Linked DNA regions of Homo sapiens: region 1 is linked to region 2. The links are contacts of gene promoters, found by promoter capture Hi-C in human tissues and cell types (Jung and others, 2019). All regions are on one chromosome and are shown on one strand. The core of a region is centred on a gene start or on the middle of the fragment in contact, and the rest is flanking DNA. Distances in the headings are between cores, read along the strand shown.

The links. The method cuts DNA at HindIII sites, captures the fragments that hold promoters and counts their contacts. A contact is called where the count stands out against the background at its distance.
Region 1: the fragment with the promoter of GNA11 here is called in contact with the fragment with the promoter of CELF5 in region 2 in 2 of the 25 tissues and cell types used here (pancreas and spleen).

Annotation. Positions count from the first base shown.
Region 1 is chr19:3,092,814-3,095,947 of GRCh38, forward strand. It overlaps GNA11 (G protein subunit alpha 11), which reads left to right and starts at 1,549. Exons shown (of 7, transcript NM_002067.5): 1 at 1,549-1,974. The coding sequence starts at 1,839. RefSeq lists silencers at 1,218-1,467, 1,488-1,607, 1,928-2,057 and enhancers at 1,354-2,341, 2,342-3,134. The HindIII fragment of the contact is 21,058 bases long and covers 1-3,134 here.
Region 2 is chr19:3,223,373-3,226,238 of GRCh38, forward strand. It overlaps CELF5 (CUGBP Elav-like family member 5), which reads left to right and starts at 1,289. Exons shown (of 13, transcript NM_021938.4): 1 at 1,289-1,626. The coding sequence starts at 1,368. RefSeq lists a silencer at 1,110-1,229. The HindIII fragment of the contact is 19,492 bases long and covers 1-2,866 here.

The DNA.
Region 1 (3,134 bases), core at 299-2,798, 130 kb before region 2:
AATCCCAGCGCTTTGGGAGGCCGAGGAGGGCAGATCACTAGAGGCCAGGAGTTTGAGACCAGCCTGGCCAACGTGGCGAAACCCGCTCTCTACTAAAAATACAAAATTAGCCAGGCATGGTGGCGCGCCTGTAATCCCAGCTACTTGGGAGGGTGAGGCAGGAGAATCACTAGAGCCTGTGAGGCAGAGGGTGCAATGAACCTAGATCACGCCCCTGCACTCCAGCCTGGGCGACAGAGCAAGACTCCATCTCAAAAAAAGAAGAAGAAAAAAAAGATATCCCTTGGGTAGGGTTAGCTTAACGGGCTTACAGCAGTGCCTGGTATCCTGTAGGCATTTCATGAATGCGTATACCTGGCCTGGAATGGTGCAGGCACTGCAGTAAGGCCTGATTGACACCTGATGGACAGCAGGCACTCCATTAATCTCTGGTCCGTGCCTGGCATATAGAATGTGTCCCATTAATGCCTGATACACAGTAGGTGTCCCATTAACGCTTTTTAATTTTTTTTTTTGAGACAGAGTCTCGCTCTGTCGCCCAGGCTGGAGTGCAGTGGCATGATCTCAGCTCACTGCAAGTTCCGTCTCCCGGGTTCACGCCATTCTCCTGCCTCAGCCTCCCGAGTAGCTGGGACTACAGGCGCCCGCCACCACGCCCGGCTAATTTTTTGTATTTTTAGTAGAGACGGGGTTTCACCGTGTCAGCCAGGATAGTCTCGATCTCCTGACCTCGTGATCCACCCGCCTCGGCCTCCCAAAGTGCTGGGATTACAGGCGTGAGCCACCGCGCCCGGCCCTCTTTTTTTTTTTTTTTCTTTGGAGACGGAGTTTCGTTCTTGTTGCCCAGGCTGGAGTGCAATGGCGTGATCTCGGCTCACTGCAACCTCCGCCTCCTGGGTTCAAGTGATTCTCCTGCCTCAGCCTCCCGAGTAGCTGGGATTACGGGCGTGCACCACCACGCCGGGCTAATTTTGTAGTTTTAGTAGAGACGGCGTTTCTCCCTGTTGGTCAGGCTGGTCTCGAACTCCAGACCTCAGGTGATCCGCCCGCCTCGGCCTTCCAAAGTGCTGGGATTACAGGCGTGAGCCACCGCGCCCGACCTCCATTAACGCTTTTTAATGGATGAGTGAAGGTTCCTGTCAGGCAATGTCAGGGCGCTTCCCGGGGGCAGCGACTGCTGCCCAGGCACCTGGAGACCCAGAGAGCGCAGCGGCCGCGTGCGCGCCTCCGCCACCGCGCCTGGGCCGAGCCGAGCGGGACCGAGCGGGGCCGAACGGAGCCGAGCGGAGCCGAGCCTGGCCGGGCCGAGTCCGCCACATTCCCACAATCCCGGGCGGCCCCGCCCCGGCTCCCGGCTGCGCGTCCCCCTTCCCACGTCGGCGCAACCAAACCCGCGGGCCCCCCGCCCTCGCCCCGCCCCGCCCCTTTCGCGCCCGCCGACGCCCCGCCCAGGCCGCTAGTCCCGCCCCCATGGTGGGCGCGCTTGGCCGCCGGCCCCTCCCATTGGCCGCACCGTCTGCCCGTCGCGGGCTGCGCTCCCAGCCTGCTAGGTTGTCCGGCGCTGTCGCTCGGTTGCGGCGGCTGCGGTTGGCGGTGGCTGCGGCGGCGGCGCGGGCTGAGTGCGGCCGCGCGGGAGTCCGCGGCTGGCGCGGCCCGAGCGGGGACCCGGCGGCTCGCCAGGCGGCGGCCGAGGCGGGGCGGGCCGGCCCGGGGCCGAGGGCCGGTGGCCGAGGCCGGAGGGCCGCGGCGGGCGGCGGCCGAGGCGGCTCCGGCCAGGGCCGGGCCGGGGGCCGGGGGGCGGCGGCGGGCAGGCGGCCGCGTCGGCCGGGGCCGGGACGATGACTCTGGAGTCCATGATGGCGTGTTGCCTGAGCGATGAGGTGAAGGAGTCCAAGCGGATCAACGCCGAGATCGAGAAGCAGCTGCGGCGGGACAAGCGCGACGCCCGGCGCGAGCTCAAGCTGCTGCTGCTCGGTGAGTGCGGCCCCCGGGCCTGCCGGCTGCGGGCCCTGCCCTGCCTGTGCCTGCCCTGCCTGTCCGGGTCGGGCCGGGACCCTCCGGGGTCAGCCCTGCCTGTGCCGTCCGGGTCGCGAGACCCTCCGGGGTCAGCCCTGCCTGTGCCTTCCCTGCCTGTCCGGGTCGCGGGACCCTCGAGTGTCAGCCCTGCCTGTGCCTTCACTGCCTGTCCGGGTCGGGGCGGGGCCCTCCGGGATCAGCCCTGCCTGTGTCGTCTGGGTCGGCTCGGGACCCTCTGGGGTCAGCCCTGCCTTTGCTGTCTAGGTCGGCACCTGGGACCCTCCGGGGTCAGCTGCGGGCCCCTGATTTCTTTGGGGTCAGCCCCTGCCTTAACTGTTCATGTTGGCACCTGGGACTCTCCGGTGTCAGCCTGTGTCTGTCCTGTCTGGATCAGGCCCCCGATCACTCCTAGGTCAGCTCCCAGCTTCTGCTGTCTACATTGGGCCTCCAGGACTCTTCAGGATTTGCCCTCTGTTCCTTCTCAAGGGACCAGTCCCTCCCTGCACAGGGACCTTCTGACCTTACCCCACCGGAGTACCCACCCCTCGCTACCCCTTCAGGGCCAGACCTTTGGGCTGTAACCCACAGGGCACACTCACCCCTCACTGCTCAGGGCCCCGCGTTGACCCTTCCCTCCAGGCAGAGCCCTGTACACTCCATGCAGGCCCTGTACCCTCCATGCAGGCCCTGTACACCCCCCCATCCCCCCGAAGACTCCTCCGTGTCCCCTATCCCCACATTCCCTTCAGGGCCATTCTCCTGCCTTCCTGTTCCGGGAAACCCCGTACTCCTCTTGGCTGGAATGCACCCTGTGGGAAAAAGACAGTCTTTCCTCTCCTCAGGGTTCCGCTCAGCTGAGGGTGGGGCGGTTGACACCTGAGGGAGCCTTTGCTTGTTGTCCCAAGCAGCTATCTCGGCAGCCTCCCCCGCCCCCTTCCTTAGAGTCCTGGTGGGAGCCACGCTGAGTCCTCGTTGAGAGCAGCCCCCCACCTGCCGGCTCCTCCCCACCGTCCTGGAGAAGGTTTGCTGGTGAACCTCCTTCTCCCCAAGGCACACCTGCTGCAGGGAGCCAGTCGGGCCAGCTGTAAAGTGTTGTCACTCCAAATAAGGGCCCCTTC
Region 2 (2,866 bases), core at 39-2,538:
TAGCTGGGATTACAGGCATGCACAACCATGCCTGGCTAATTTTTGTGTTTTTAGTAGAGACAGAGTTTTCTCCATGTTGATCAGGCTGGTCTCGAACTCCTGATCTCAGGTGATCCACCTGCCTCAGCCTCCCAAAGTGCTGGGATTACAGGTGTGAGCCATCGTGCCTGGCCTGTTTTCTTATTTTTTACAGCAATGGCGTCTCACTATGTTGCTCAGGCTGGTCTCCAACTCCTGGGCTCAAGTGGTCCTCCTGACTCTGCTTCTCAAAGTGCTGGGATTACAGGTGTGAGCCACCACGGCCAGCACGTATTATTATTTTTATTAATATTATTGATGAGTTTCATACGTAAAGGATCACGGGCACTTTAGAGCTGGGAGATACTTCAGTATTTCTCCTATCCTGTCATTATCAGTGCGAGCCAGTCTCCCTCCTTGTTGATGACATTATTGATGAGTTACATACTTAAAGGGCCAAGGACACTTTCTATGTGTAAGCACCCTATAGAACTGGAAGATACTTTTACCATTTCTCCTGTGCTGTCGTGATTAGTGGGAGCACTTTGTCTTGCTCTTGATTAATTATTATTAGTGTTGTTATTATTAGGTGTTTTTTTTTTTTTTTTTTACCAAGACGGAGTTTTGCTCTTGTTGCCCAGGCTGGAGTACAATGGCACAATCTTGGCTCACTGCAACCTCCGCCTCCTGGGTTCAAGTGATTATCCTGCCTCAGCCTCCCGAGTAGCTGGGATTACAGGCACCCCCCGCCACCGAGCCCAGCTAATTTTTGTATTCTTTAGTAGAGACGGGGTTTCACCGTGTTAGCCAGTCTGGTCTCGAACTCCTGACCTCAAGTGATCCACCCACCTCGGCCTCCCAAAGTGCTGAGATGACAGGCGTGAGCCACCGCGCCCAGCCATATTATTAGTGTTATTAATATTATTGATGAGTTACCTACTTTAAGGATCACGGGCGCTTTCAACGACAAGCCCCCTACATTATCCCAGCAACTTTTGACATTCTTCCGGCCGATGCCCTCCGCGGGAGCCGGCGGGGACCCCTGGGAAGCCGGCTAAGGCCCGTCCCGCCCGCAGCTCCGCCCTCGCCCACCCGTAGGCGGGGCCCGGGGCCTTCCGGCCTCAGTTTCCCCCCGCGGCCCGGGGATGCGGGGAGGCGCCGGCTGCCCCGCGCGGCGCGGCCGCCAGGGGCCGCTGCGGAGCCGCCTTTGTGGTCCCGATGCCGGGGCGGGCGCGGGCGGGAGGAGGGCGCGGGGGCCCGGGAGGGAGGCGGGAGGCGCGGCCGCCGCTCCAGCTGCGAGTCCGCCCGCCGCCCGCCGCCGCCGCCGCCGGCTCGGTCCCGCGCCCGCCATGGCCCGCCTGACGGAGAGCGAGGCGCGCCGGCAGCAGCAGCAGCTCCTGCAGCCGCGGCCCTCGCCCGTGGGCAGCAGCGGGCCCGAGCCCCCCGGGGGGCAGCCCGACGGCATGAAGGACCTGGACGCCATCAAACTCTTCGTGGGCCAGATCCCGCGGCACCTGGACGAGAAGGACCTCAAGCCGCTCTTCGAGCAGTTCGGCCGCATCTACGAGCTCACGGTGCTCAAAGACCCCTACACGGGGATGCACAAAGGTGGGCGCCCGGCCCCCTCCCCCCTCTCCCCCTCCCTCCGCCTCCCACCCCACCTTCCGGCATCTTCTCTCCCCCATCACCATCCCTCCTCTGCTCACCTCCCTCCTCTGCCTGCCTCTGCCGGAGCATCGGTTCTTACCCCCTCCCTCCCACCCACCCCTCCTCCCCTCTCTGGGGGTGCAGCTGACAGATCCGAGCGGGCCCCCTCCCCTCCTCCGCCCCCTCTCCCTCCCTCCCCACCTTCCGGCATCTCCTCTCTCTCTCCCTCTCTCTCTCCCTCTCTCTCTCCCTTTCTCTTCTCTCCCATCTCCCTCGACCTCTCATCCTTCCCCCCACAGCACCCTCTCTCTCCCTCCCTCCCTCCCTCACCCTTCCATCCCCCAGACCCCCACCCCTTCCTCCCTCCCTCACCCCACTCTTTCCTGCCCGTTTGCCAGGGGAGCCTCGGGAACGCCGGCACCCCTCCCTGCCCCCCCACCCCCATTCATTCAGCCTCCCCAGGCCCCGTCGGGGAAGTTTGCACCTGCGGACTCCATTGCTTTGGTTATTTTCACAAAGCCAGGCCGGCGGGGCAGGTCCGGCCGCGGGGGACACGGATGCCCAGGACCCCAGGCTAATCGGTAACTACAAAGGAAGACGGGTTGGGGGCGCCCGGCTCGGGGGGACGCGCCCGCCTCGCCTGCCTCGGGTGGCGGAGAGGCTCCCGTCGCTGCCCACCCCCTGGCCCCACCACCTCCGCGTGGATCAGCATTCTCTCCTCCATTTCTCTGCCCTCCCCCTCCCCCGCCTCCACCTTGGGCTCAAGTTGAAACTGGCCGAGCCTCTTAGCAATGTGTTGGGGTCTCAGGCCCAAGACAATGAGCTTGGACGTGTCCATCTGGGCAGAGCCCAAATTCTGGGGTGGACAGGGAGGAGGAGGGAGGCGTGGGCGGCCTCAGGCCTGTCTGCCTCCCTCCCACTGGATTCTCCCTCCGATGGCATCCCGGGTGGGGGTGTCCGGCAATTGTATCCCCAGCCCTTGGTTCCCATCATGGGCCCAGCGTCTGAATTGGGGTGGCTTTGACAGCCTTCCGGTCAGGTGTTGGGGACTGGGGGTGCCACTTCAAAGGCCTTGTGCTGGACACCCCCGGCCCTCCCCCTCCCATCCTCCAGGAAGACCCTGGAGAGGCCTTGGGGAAGGACCGGGGCCCATGACCTATTTTACACCCACTTTTTCCCCAGCGCTGCGTGCCCGGTAAGC